Linked DNA regions of Homo sapiens: region 1 is linked to region 2. Evidence: promoter capture Hi-C in human tissues and cell types (Jung and others, 2019). All regions are on one chromosome and are shown on one strand. The core of a region is centred on a gene start or on the middle of the fragment in contact, and the rest is flanking DNA. Distances in the headings are between cores, read along the strand shown. Region 1 overlaps KIAA0586. Region 2 holds the start of RTN1 (reticulon 1).

The links. Contacts are between HindIII fragments. The study calls those that stand out against the background at their distance.
Region 1: a fragment that was not itself captured here is called in contact with the fragment with the promoter of RTN1 in region 2 in 1 of the 25 tissues and cell types used here (small bowel).

Annotation. Positions count from the first base shown.
Region 1 is chr14:58,525,163-58,532,362 of GRCh38, reverse strand. The region is part of intron 29 of KIAA0586; the gene reads right to left. Among named protein-coding and RNA genes, the nearest start is that of KIAA0586, 100 kb to the right of the region's middle. The HindIII fragment of the contact is 3,859 bases long and covers 3,811-7,200 here.
Region 2 is chr14:59,868,003-59,874,919 of GRCh38, reverse strand. RTN1 (reticulon 1) reads left to right here and starts at 4,144. Exons shown (of 9, transcript NM_021136.3): 1 at 4,144-4,530. The coding sequence starts at 4,290. RefSeq lists a silencer at 4,136-4,235. The HindIII fragment of the contact is 4,177 bases long and covers 2,978-6,917 here.

The DNA of each region.
Region 1 (7,200 bases), core at 4,491-6,990, 1.3 Mb after region 2:
TTCCATTAAATCTTTCATCCTATGCAAGGTAATTCTGAAGTAAGCCAGAGAAACAGAAGTGAAGTAACAATTTGGTATGTAGTTTGATGCCATCTTATCAGCCATAGGTATTTACCTCCTCTTGTCTGCTGCATACACATACATGTTCAGGCATACTTTTTTTTTCCTTTTTTTTTTCAATTACACATTAAGTTCTGGGATACATATGCAGAACGTGCAGGTTTGTTACATAGGTACACACATGCCATGGTGGTTTGCTGCACCCATCAACCCATCATCTACATTAGGTATTTCTCCTAACGCTATCCCTCCCCTATCCCCCACCCCCCGACAGGCCCCGGTGTGTGATATTCCCTTCCCTGTGGCCAAGTGTTCTCATTGTTCAACTCCCACTTATGAGTGAGAACATGAGGTGTTTGATTTCCTATTCCTGTGTTAGTTTGCTGAGAATGATGGTTTCCAGCTTCATCCATGTCCCTGCAAAGGACATGAACTAGTCATAATACACATGGCTGCATATTATTCCATGGTGTGTATGTACCACATTTTCTTTATCCAGTCAATCATTGATGGGCATTTGGGGTGGTTCCAAGTCTTTGCTATTGTGAATAGTGCTGCAATAAATATACGTGTGCATGTGTCTTTATAGCAGAATGATTTATAATCCTTTGGGTATATACCCAGTAAAGGGATTGCTGGGTCAAATGGTATTTCTGGTTCTAGATCCTTGAGGAATCACCACAATGTCTTCTACAATGGTTGATTTATATTCCCACCAACAGTGTAAAAGCATTCCTATATCTCTACATCCTCTTCAGCATCTGTTGTTTCCTGACTTTCTAATGATCGCCATTCTAACTGGCATGAGATGGTATCTCATTGTGGTTTTGATTTGTATTTCTCTAATGAGCAGTGATGATGAGCCTTTTTTCAGATCTTTGTTGGCCACATAAATGTCTTCGTTTGAGAAGTGTCTGTTGATATCCTTTGCCCAATTTTTTTTTATTTTTTATTTATTTTATTTTTTTTTTTTTTTGAGACGGAGTCTCGGTCTGTCCCCCAGGCTGGAGTGCAGTGGTGCAATCTCGGCTCACTGCAAGCTCTGCCTTCTGGGTTCAGGCCATTCTCCTGCCTCAGCCTCCAAAGTAGCTGGGACTACAGGTGCCCACCACCATGCCCGGCTAATTTTTTTTTTTTTTTGTACATTTTAGTAGAGACGGGGTTTCACTGTGTTAGCCAGGACGCTCTCCATCTCCTGACCTCGTGATCCACCTGCCTTGGCCTCCCAAAGCCCAAAGTGCTGGGATTACAGGCGTGAGCCACTGCACCCGGCCCCTTTGCCCGCTTTTTGATGGGGTTGTTTTTTTCTTGTAAATTTGTTTAAGTTCCTCACAGATTCTAGATATTAGCCCTTTGTCAGATGGATAGATTGCAAAAATTTTCTCCCATTCTGTAGGTTGCCTGTTCATCTGATGATAGTTTCTTTTGCTGTGCAGAAGCTCTTTAGTTTAATTAGATCCCATTTGTCTATTTTGACTTTTGTTGCCATTGCTTTTGGTGTTTTAGTCATGAGGTCTTTGCCCATGCCTATGTCCTGAATGGTACTGCCTAGGTTTTCTTCTAGGGTTTTTATGGTTTTAGGTCTTATGTTTAAGTCTTTAATCCATCTTGAATTAATTTTTGTATAAGGTGTAAGGAAGAGGTCCAGTTTCAGTTTTCTGCATATGGCTAGCCAGTTTTCCCACCACCATTTATTAAATAGGGAATCCTTTCCCCATTGCTTGTTTCTGTCAGGTCTGTCAAAGATCAGATGGCTGTAGATGTGTGGTGTTATTTATTAGGCCTCTGTTTTGTTCCATTGGTCTATATATCTGTTTTGGTACCAGTACCATGCTGTTTTGGTTACTGTAGCCTTGTAATATAGTTTGAAGTCAGGTAGCGTGATGCCTCCAGCTTTGTTCTTTTTGCTTAGGACTGTCTTGGCTATATGGGCTCTTTTTAGGTTCCATATGAAATTTAAAGTAGTTTTTTCTAATTCTGTGAAGAAAGTCATTGGTAGCTTGATGGGGATAGCACTGAATCTATAAATTACTTTGGGCAGTATGGTCTTTTTCACAATATTGATTCTTCCTATCCATAAGCATGGAATGTTTTGCCATTTGTTTGTGTCCTTATTTCCTTGAGCAGTGGTTTGTAGTTCTCCTTGAAAAAGTCCTTCAAACCTCTTGTAAGTTGTATTCCTAAGTATCTTATTCTCTTTATAGCAGTTGTGAATGGGAGTTCACTCACGATTTGGCTATTATTGGCATATAGGAATGCTTGTGATTTTTGCACATTGATTTTGTACCCTGAGACTTTGCTGAAGTTGCTTATCAGCTTAAGGAGATTTTGGGCTGAGATGATGGAGTTTTCTAAATATACAATCTTGTCATCTGCAAACAGAGACAATTTGACTTCCTCCCTTCCTATTTGAATATGCTTTATTTCTCTCTCTTGCCTGATTGCCCTGGCCAGAACTTCCAGTAGTGTGTTGAATCGGAGTGGTGAGAGAGGGCATCCTTGTCTTGTGCTGGTTTACAAAGGGAATGCTTCCAGCTTTTGCCCATACAGTATGATATTGGCTGTGGGTTTGTCATAAATAGCCCTTACTATTTTGAGATATGTTTCATCAATAGATAGTTTATTGAGAGTTTCTAGCATGAAGGGGCGTTGAATTTTACTGAAGGCCTTTTCTGCATCTTTTGAGATAATCACATGGTTTTTGTTATTGGTTCTGTTTATGTGATGGATCATGTTTACTGATTTGCATATGTTGAACCAGCCTTGCACCCCAGGGATGAAGCTGACTTGATTGAGGTAGATAAGCTTTTTCATGTGCTGCTGGATTCGGTTTGCCAGTATTTTATTGAGGATTTTTACACTGATGATCATCACGGATACTGGCCTGAAATTTTCTTTTTTTTGTTGTGTCTCTGCCAGGTTTTCGTATCAGGATGATGCTGGCTTCATAAAATGAGTAAGGGAGCAGTCTCTCTTTTTCTATTCTTTGGAATAGTTTCAGAAGGAATAGCAGCAGCTCCTCTTTGTACCTCTGGTAGAATTCGCCTGTGAATTTGTCTGGTCCTGGGCTTTTTTTGGTTGGTAGGCTATTAATTACTGCCTCAATTTCAGAACTTGTTATTGATCTATTCAGGGATTCGACCTCTTCCTGGTTTAGTCTTGGGAGGGTGTATGTGTCCAGGAATTTATCCATTTCTTCTAGATTTTGTAGTTAATTTGTGTAGAGGTGTTTATAGTATTCTCTGATGGTGGTTTGTATTTTTGTGAAATCAGTGGTGATGTCCCCTTTATCATTTTTTATTATGTCTATTAGATTCTTCTCTCTTTTCTTCTTTATTAGTCTAGCTAGTGGTCTATCCATTTTGTTGATCTTTTCAGAAAACCAGCTCCTGCATTCATTGATTTTTTTAAGGGTTTTGTGTGTCTCTATCTCCTTCAGTTCTGCTCTGATCTTAGTTATTTCTTGTCTTCCGCTAGCTTTTGAATTTGTTTGCTCTTGCTTCTCTAGTTCTTTTAATTGAGATGTTAGGGTGCCAATTTTAGATCTTTCCTGCTTTCTCCTGCGGGCATTTAGTGTTAGAAATTTCCCTCTACACACTGCTTTAAATGTGTCCCAGAAATTCTGGTACGTTGTGTCTTTGTTCTCATTGGTTTCAAAGCACTTATTTATGTCTGTCTTAATTTCATTATTTACCGAGTAGTCACTCAGGAGCAGGTTGTTCAGTTTCCATGTAGTTGTGCCGTTTTGAGTGAGTTTGTTAATCCTGAGTTCTAGTTTGATTGCACTGTGGTCTGAGAGACTGTTTATTATGATTTCTGTTCTTTTGCATTTGCTGAGGAGTGTTTTACTTCCAATTATATGGTCAATTTTAGAATAAGTGTGATGTGGTGCTAAGAAGAATGTATACTCTGTTGATTTGGGGTGGAGAGTTCTGTAGATGTCTATTAGGCCTGCTTGGTCCACAGCTGAGTTCAAGTCCTGATTATCCTTGTTAATTTTCTGTCTCATTGTTCTGTCTAATATTGACAGTGGGGAGTTAAAGTCTCCCACTATTATTGTGTGGGAGTCTAAGTCTCTTTGTAGGTCTCTAAGAACTTGTTTTATGAATCTGGACGCTCCTGTATTGGGTGCATATATATTTAGGATAGTTAGCTCTTCTTGTCGCATTGATCCCTTTACCATTACGTAATAACCTTCTTTGTCTTTTTTTATCTTTGTTGGTTTAGTCTGTTTTATCAGAGACTAGGATTGCATCCCATGCTTTTTTTGCTTTCCATTTGCATGGTAAACATTCCTCCATCCCTTTATTTTGAGCCTATCTGTGCCTTTGCATGTGAGATGGGTCTCCTGAATACAGCACACCGATGGGTCTTGACTCATTATCCTATTTGCTAGTCTATTTCTTTTAATTGGGGCATTTAACCCATGTACATTTAAGGTTAATATTGTTATGTGTGAATTTGATCCTGTCATTAGGATGCTAGCTGGTTATTTTGCCCATTAGTTGACGCAGTTTCTTCATAGTGTCAATGGTCTTTACAATTTGCTATGTTTTTGCAGTGGCTGGTGCAAGTTTTTCCTTGCCATGTCTAGTGCTTCCTTCAGGAGTTCTTGTAAGGCAAGCCTGGTGGTGACAAAATCTTTCAGCATTGGCTTGTCCCTAAAGGATTTTATTTCTCCTTCACTTATGAAGCTTAGTTTGGCTGTATATAAAATTCTGGGTTGAAAATTCTTTTATTTAAGACTGCTGAATATTGGCCCCCCATTCTCTTCTGGCTTGTAGGGTTTCCGCAGAGAGAGCCACTGTTAGTCTTATGGGCTTCCTTTTGTGGGTAACCCAACCTTTCTCTCTGGCTGCCCTTAACATTTTTTCCTTCATTTCAACCTTGTTGAATCTGACGATTATGTGTCTTGAGGTTGCTCTTCTCAAGGAATATCTTTGTGGTATGCTCTATATTTCCTGAATTTCAATGTTGGCCTGTCTTGCTAGGTTGGGGAAGTTCTTCTGGATAATATTCTGAAGAGTGTTTTCCAACTTGGTTCCATTCTCCCCGTCACTTTCAGGTACACCAATCAGATGTAGGTTTGGTCTTTTCACATAGCCCCATATTTCTTGGAGACACTGTTCATTCCTTTTCATTCTTTTTTCTCTATTCTTGTCTTCACGCTTTATTTCTTTAAGTTGATCTTCAATCTCTGATATCCTTTCTTCCGCTTGATCAATCTGGCTATTGATACTTGAGTATGCTTCACAAAGTTCTGGAGCTGTGTTTTTCAGCTCCATCAGGTCATTTATGTTCTTCTCTAAACTGGTGATTCTAGTTAGTAATTTGTCTAACCTTTTTTCAAGGTTCTTAGCTTCCTTTATTATGGGGGAAGGAATTAAAGAGGGGAAAATGTGATTCTGATTAAGGCAATATACTCAGACTATTTAGGTTTAGATGACCTGAGTAAGCAAAGGGAAATTACAGTCCAGCTTTCTGTAGTCCTTTCCAGAGCTAATTTGAAGGAATAGAAAGGGTTAGAACATGCTCCTTTAGCTCGGAGGAGTTTGTTATTACCCACCTTTTGAAGCCTACTTCTGTCAATTCATCAAATTCATTCTCCATCCAGTTTTGTTCCCTTGCTGGCGAGGAGTTGTGATCCTTTGAAGAAGAGGTGTTCTGGTTTTGGGAATTTTCAGGCTTTTTGCACTGGTTTTTCCTCATCTTTGTGGATTTATCTACCTTTGGTCTTTGATGTTAGTGACCTTCAGATGGGGTTTCTGCGTGGGTGTCCTTTTATGTTGATGTTGATGCTATTCCTTTCTGTTAGTTTTCCTTCTACCATTCACGCCCCTCTGCTGCAGGTCTGCTGGAGTTTGCTAGAGGTCCACTCTAGACCCTGTTTGCTTGGGTATTACCAGCAGAGTCTGCCAAACAGCAAAGATTGCTGCCTGTTCCTTCCTCTGGAAGCTTTGTCCCAGAGGGGCACCCACCAGATACCAGTCATAGATCTCCTGTATGAGGTGTCTGTCAACCCCTGCTAGGAGGTGTCTCCCAGTCAGGAGGCATGGGGGTCAGCGACCCCCTTGAGGAGGCAGTCTGTCCCTTAGCAAAGCTTGAGCGCTATGCTGGGAGATTTGCTGCTCTCTTCAGAGCTGGCAGGCAGGAACATCTGTCTGCTGAAGCTGCACCCACAGCCGCCCCTTCCCACAGGTGCTCTGTCCCAGGGAGATGGGAGTTTTATCTATAAGCTCCTGACTGGGGCTGCTGCCTTTCTTTCAGAGATGCCCTGCCCAGAGAAGAGGAATCTACAGAGGCAGTCTGGCTACAGCGGCTTTGCTGAGACATGGTGGGTTCCACACAGTTCCAACTTCCTGGCGGCTTTGTTTACACTGAGGGGAAAACCGCCTACTCAAGCCTCAGTAATGGCGGACGCCCCTCCCCCGACCAAGCTTGAGCATCCCAGGTCGACTTCAGACTGCTGTGCTGGCAGTGAGAATCTGAAGCCAGTGGATCTTTACCTTGCTGGGTTCCGTGGCAGTGGAATCCGCTGAGGTAGACCACTTGGCTCCCTGGCTTCAGCCCTGTTTCGAGGGGAGCAAATGGTTCTGTCTTGCTGGCATTCCAAGTGCCACTGAAGTATGAAAAAAAACTCCTGCAGCTAGCTTGGTGTCTGCCCAAATGGCTGCCCAGTTTTGTGCTTGAAACCTAGGGCCCTCGTGGTGTAGGCACCTGAGGGAATCTCCTGGTCTGCAGGTTGCAAAGACCATGGGAAAAGCATAGTATCTGGGCCGGAATGCACCGTTTCTCACGGCACAGTCCCTCATGGATTCACTTGGCTAGAGGAGGGAGTTCCCCGACCCCTTGCACTTCACGGGTGAGGCAACGCCCCACCCTGCTTCTGCTTGCTCTCCGTGGGCTGCACCCACTGTCTAACCAGTCCCAATGAGATGAGCCAGGTACCTCAGTTGGAAATGCAGAAATCACCCACCTTCTGCATTGATCTCGCTGGGAGCTGCACAATGGAATTGTTCCTGTTCAGCCATCTTGCCCAGGCCCCTAAGATATATCTTATACATATAATCTTAAATATATTCACTGAAGAGAAACAATTTTGTTGAAACTTAATTTATCTCCCTAACACTATATTGAACA
Region 2 (6,917 bases), core at 2,895-5,394:
AAAACAAGAAAACATTGAAACATTGGGGAAAGTCTCAAGGATATTGGTCTGGGCAAAGATTTCTAGAGTAATACCCCATAAGCACAGGCAACCAAAGCAAAAATGGACAAATGGGATCACATCAAGTTAAAAATCTTCTGCACAGCAAAAGAAACAACTAAGTGAAGAGACAACCCACAGAATAAGAGAAAAAAATTGCAAATTATCCATCTGACAAGGGATTAATAACCATAATATATAACGAGCTCAAATAGCTCTATTAAGAAAAAATATAATGATCCAATTAAAAATGGGCAAAATATCTAAATAGACATTACTCAAAAGAAGACATACAAATAAATAGCAAACAGACATATGAAAAGGTGCTCAATATCATTGATCATTAGAGAAATGCAAATCAGAACTACAATGAGATGTCATCTGACTCCAATTAAAAAAACTAGAGCTACCATATGATCCAGCAATCCCAGTTTTTTATATATTATGGTTATTAATCCCTTGTCAGATGGATAATTTGCAATTTTATTCTCTTATTCTGTGGGTTGTCTCTTCACTTAGTTGTTTCTTTTGCTGTGCAGAAGATTTTTAACTTGATGTGATCCCATTTGTCCATTTTTGCTTTGGTTGCCTGTGCTTATGGGGCATTACTCTAGAAATGCTTGCCCAAACCAATATCCTGGAGAGTTTCCCCAGTGTTTCAATGTTTTCTTGTTTTTGTTTGTTTGTTGGGTATATACCCAAAAGAAAGCAAAAGTATATTGAAGAGATATCTGCACTCCAACGTTTATCACAGCACTATATTATTCACACTAGCCAAAATTTGGAAGCAACCCATGTGTTCATCAAGAGACAAATGGATAAAGAAAATGTGGTACATATACACAATGGACTATTATTCAGTCATAAAAAAGAATGAGATCCTGTCATTTGCACAACATGGATGGAACTGGAGGACATCTGTTAAGTGATATAAGCCAAGCACAGAAAGACAAACTTCTTATGTTCTCACTTATGTGTGGTAAATTAAAATTAAAACAGTTGAATTCATGGAGATAGAGAGTAGAACGGTTTCCCAGAGGCCAAGAAGTGTAGTGCTGGGAGGCTGGCAGGGGCCTGAGGGGCATGGAGGTGGGACAGTTAATGGTAGATATAAAAATATAGTTAGATACGAGTGAATAAGATCTAGTATTCACTGGCACAATGGGGCACCTACAGTCAACAATAATTTATTTTATATTTCAAAACAACAAAAAGATTATAATCGGATTGTTTGTAACACAAAGAAAGGATAAAAGCTTGAGGTGATGGATACCTTATTTACCATGATATGATTATTATTCATTGTATGCCTGTATTAAAATATCTCATATACCCCATAAATATATACACCTACTATGTACCCACCCACAAAAATTTTAAAAAAAATCTCCAGGTTACAGTTGAGGAACCTGGGTTGTAGAGATGTTAGGTAACTTTAATATTGAGGCTGGAAAGAATTTCATCTTGGTTAAAGCTTGTTACTTGTGGCGCTCTTCCTGCATGTCCCCACACCGTGTTTCCCCATGATATATGGTTTGGACTAAGTTAAGAAGCTAGTGCTAAATAAATGCTCCTCATTTCTTCTTTTCAAATGATGAACAAAACTTCTTTTCCAAAAAACAAAAGCTGAAAACAAAACGTGACAGTTCTTTTGTCTCAACTCTTCTTGCTAAGAACCTTTTAAAAGTGACAATCCTATTTTCTCTGTGTCTGAAAAGCATTTTAGAGTAATTCGTAACTTAGAGCAACTATGTAAGCCCCAGAATCCCATTGCCGACTGTGTGTTTTGCCCATAAATCTTCAAATTAGTCAAGCTTTGTCAGTTCAGAGCGGTGCAAAATAAATAATATTAATAAACATGAATCATTTCAAGTCATAGCATAAACCTGAAAATTTCTTCCCCCAAATAGATAATTTTTATACATCCAAAGGTGGAGTCTAATAAGGAAAGTTAGTAATGAAAATTGCTAACACTGAAATCTTGTGCTCATCTCTTTTCAGCAGTGTAAAATAGAATACTTTATCAAAATGGAACTGTCAATAATGTTCAATTTCCTTTAACAACTACACTCTAAATAGATTTAACTGGCTATTTCCTTCACACATTCTCAATGAGAGTATTGATTAGTATGAAAGAAATTGACAAATAATTAGAATCATATCCCCAAACTTCCTATCTATTAATCATAAGGAAACACAGAGGCTTGCTTAGGTCTCCCAGTTTTTTAATGATGACTTTCATTCATGTTTCTCAGAGAAACAAAAGAATATACTTCATATTATTTTGTATGTAACTCCTTTGCATAGCAATTCTCAAATATTAGTATTCATCAATAACCACTTTAAGGTTATATCATTAGAATTGTCTATGTTCTTGTCTTGTTATCAGTAATAAAACCATGAGAAATTCCCATCTAGTATTTCTGATGCTTTAGGGAATACTAAGTAATAGATTTGAAAAAACTTACAAGTGCCCTCTAATTACAAGACAGGATTAAGCTCCATGGAAATACAGCAGTGGAATAAGCTTTTCAACTTAACGGTTTTTTAAATACACTCTTGTTTTCCCATGGAAAGATGTTTAAAAATCATTATGATTCATGATAACCAATTATTTTGTTGTTTTTGGATGAGATTATTTTTATAGATTTATTGAGTTATAACTGACAACACATTAAATTGTTCATATTTACAGTAAACAATAAGTTTTGACATATGTTTGCACCTGTGAAGCTATAACCACAATCTAGATAGTGAATATTTCCATCATGAGACATAATTTTGAGTATGTCAAAAATGTAAAATTTTGGTGACCATCAGATTTCCAGGGATATCTGGCTTCAGGAGGCCATATTTATTGTTTAGTGAATGATTTTTCTCTAATTTATTGTCATCTTTTGAACATTAGTGCACTAGCAGAACAAAAGATTAGGCAGACTCTGGGCTTTTTCATTTTAGCATTATTGAGGAGCACCTGAATGGTCCTGAAGTTGGCCTTTGAATATACCAATGGACAGGTATGAAATCCTCAAGATGCGCATGGTGGCCAAGAGTCCCACAGTCTCACAGTGTGTGCGGTACCGTCTGCGCCCACCTTTCCTAGAGAAGAAACAGCAGAAAAACCTATTCCTTCACCCTGTGTGTTGTGGTGAATCTTAGTTTTTAAAGGCACATTATTTTATTATATAAACAACTTGGGAACCAATAAAACACAAGACATTTGAAAAGATGGGTCTTCGTATGGGCACAACATATGATAAGGCAAGTCACTTTCCTCCTCTGAGTTTGGGTTTATTTGCTGACTATCTTCCATTTTATCACAGTGAACTGTAAAGAAAAAGATGCAAGCTTCATGGAATGTCCAAATTCTGAAATACAACGGACTGCACAGACAGCTTATGATTAGGATGGCCTTGGCTCAGTGTTTCTGAAAGCAAATGTACAGCTTTTGTCCTTGCCTATTGACACCCTGTTTGCCCTCAGGGCTGGTCAGGGTGAGATCTGTTAAGCTTTTTTTGGAGGCTGTCCTGATAACTCATTTCTTTACTCCACTATTTTCAGGCCCATTCTGGAAACGCAGGATTTAACCGCGGGGTTGCAGCTTCCCTGGTCTCCATCTGCCATCAGAACCCATCTCCACCCCTTCCCCGTTCAGACCTGTGTCCCCTCCACAACTCATACTGGTCACTCTCAGAACTGTGGCCCTGAGTTCTCTAGCTTTCCCTCTTTGCCTCGGGACCCAGGACACCAGTCGGGGCTTAACTTTCTCAGTTGGGAAGGCGACGCTGCTGGTGGCTGCTGCTACTTGCTGGTTCTTCCTTTTTTTTCCTCCCCAAACGAGAGGAAGATTCGAGTGGATTTGGCACATCCCCTAACCGGGGCCTGCCATTTGCAGGTTGGGGGCTGACGTGCCCAGGAGGACCCGGACCAAGCAGGCCATTTTCACCTGCGTAATAACAGGATTGGGAATAGCGAAGCAGCGGCGGCAGCAGCGAGTGGAGTAGGAGGAGGAGCGCAGGCAGCGGCCGCGGCGGGGCCGGAGGAAGAGGAGGGGGGAGAAGGAGGAGCTGAAGCGGGAAGAGCGGCAGGCAGCGGCTCGGCGGAGTTGCAGCAGAGGCGGCGGCGACGCTGAGACACCGCAGCTTCCCTGAGCGCCGAGTCCCTCCGGGGACAGCAGCAGGGAGCGCCCGCGCAGCCACCGAGCCTCTGCCCAGCCAAGCCGCCGTCGCCGCGCCGGGGGACCGCCAGCCATGGCCGCGCCGGGGGATCCGCAGGACGAGCTGCTGCCGCTGGCCGGCCCCGGGTCCCAGTGGCTCAGGCACCGGGGGGAGGGGGAGAACGAAGCGGTGACGCCGAAAGGGGCCACGCCGGCGCCGCAGGCTGGGGAGCCCAGCCCGGGGTTGGGCGCCAGGGCCCGGGAAGCGGCGTCGCGGGAAGCCGGCTCGGGCCCCGCCCGGCAGTCGCCCGTTGCCATGGAAACTGCATCCACAGGTAAGGCGGGCGCCGCTGCCCCTCAAATGGCGTCGGGGACCAGGGCCCCCCAGTCAGTCCCCTTCTGCGCGGCTCTCCTGGGCACCTGCCTCGCGCTTTCTGCCTTGAGCGCCGACCCCACCCCCGCGTCGCCACGGGCGACTGGGAATATTCGCGGGCTGGTAGAAAACAACAATTTTATTTTTCCCAAAGGCTCAGAAAAAGTCAAGATGCTTTTGATCCTTTTATTTCATTATCATGATTATTTCCGCTTTAAAAATTGTTCTCATAGGCAAACAGCAGCATTCTGGCTGCTGGCGAGTCTGGGTACAAGTTTCTCCCTCCTGCCAGGAGGCTCCGAGCTGTAGGGCCCGTTTGACAGGTTGTGGGGATTTTGGGGGGCGTGTTTGCGCGCAGTGTGCGCGCCGGCTACAGGAGATGCTGACAACCGAGCGGCGGGCAGGCCCGCGGCCCCTGGACCCGGCTCTGTCCAGGGCAGAGATGTGGCTGTAACTGCCCCTTACCCTTGCCCTCCACGAATCGCCACCACACCTTACTCCCCCCACATCCCTCCGCCTTTTCTCCCGCAGAAAACAAATCCCAGGGAGTTTGTCCCTAATTCGGGAGGCACAGCTTTGCAAGAGGGTTGGGTGCTGTGGCTGCCCCCGCCCAAAACCTGTATTTCGCCGCTGCCCGGATGGCCCCACCTTGCAGGGAGCATTGAAACTTCAAGTCCTAAGTGCGGCGGGCCTGGCTGTGGGTTGGAGGGCTTGGGTGGTGGTGAGTGGACGTGGTACAGTTTACCAGCAGTCTAAGCGCCCCCCCCCCCCCACCCCGGAAATTGCCCTGGGTTTGGCCATTCTTCGCCTGACGCCCTATTCAAAGTCTGAGCGCGCCAGTGTCCAGCGGGAGCCCAGGCCCCTGGCGCATCCTGGTCAAAGGATCCAGGAAGCGCGCTTTGAGGCTGCCGGCCTGGTTAACGCTGTTTCCAGGGAGAGGAAAGGGGATGCTGTGTGGTGCTCTTTCCTGAGAAAGCTTTGCTATGGTGGAGTGGGAGTTGTGTAGTTTTGGCAATGTAGAGCTAGAAGGCCTGGGGTGGGGGGTGCTCCCAGAGGAGGGGAAGGGGAGTGGGACTGGTGTGTGTGCTCTTGGTGGTTGATTTAAAGAAACCCCTTTTCGTAAGCTTCTCTTAAGGGTTATGTGGAATGTCTAAGGTAATCGTAATTAACTGCCCTGGTACAGAAGATCTGAGCTGGGGAAAAGAGGTTTGGAGAATGCGTTGAATAAAAATTGTCAATATCCTGAAAGGAAGAGAAAAAGTGGAGACCCTATATAAGAAAAAAGAAAAAGAAAGAAAGAAAAGTACTCAAAAGCCCCAACGCCAAACGCCAAAGGTTATATATTAATTATTATATCCCTAGGAGTGGGGGAGGATTTAAATCTAAGAATGGCTGCTCAGTCTCTCTTTCAACTTCTGCATCCAAGTGAAAACAAAACTCTTTATAATTGCAAAAGAAGATGGCAAATGATAATAGACAAAGGAAGGTAGTTTTTGTCTTTACCATTCTTTGTTGAGGATAGACTGCTCATAGTTCAGAATCTTTATCCACTGTAATCAAAGTAAATTGTTTCTTTATGAAACATTACCCACCTCCTATTAGTGCCACTAAGATTATGTGAACTAGAAAAAGGAAGCTAAGTGCCCCATGCTCAGTAACATATCCACAAAAGTTATTATATAGGAAATGCTTAGAATATATATTTGTGGGGTACAGTGTGATGTTTTGACATATGTCTGCATTGTCAAATGATTAGCTAACAAATCCATCATCTCATGTACTTTTTTTTTGTGGTAAAAGCGTTTAAAATTTACTCTTTTAGCAATTTCAAAATGTACAGTGCATTGTTACAGAAAGGTGGCTGTAGTAAATAACAATGCATTTTGCATTTTTAGTATTATTATTATAGAAATACCTTGCTTTATTGAATGTGTTTGGGGTTTTCTATCCTAGGCAACAAATATAGTAATAAAATCAAACATGATACTACGTTTGGATGGGAGAAGAATGAAGAAAGATGGAAGGAGCACATATTTTGCATATTTATATAGAAATTTTTTAGTTTATGATTGTGGCTAGAAGGAATTTCTGATATAGTTGTTGATTGGTTAATGTCTTAAATCTCTGTGTTTCTTATTAAGTAGACCGGATGTGCTGCTATAAGAGACTCAAACGCCAGAAATGCTGTATAAATAAATAACTAGATCTTAAAATTCCAAACAAATCTTGTCCAGCTTCCTGGTCTGTTATTTTGGCAGTTCTATTGCTATAAGCAAAGTTAGCAGGTGAGCCCTCAATTGTATCAGAGATGCCTATTAAGCACACTACTTTACACTGTATTTCTTAATT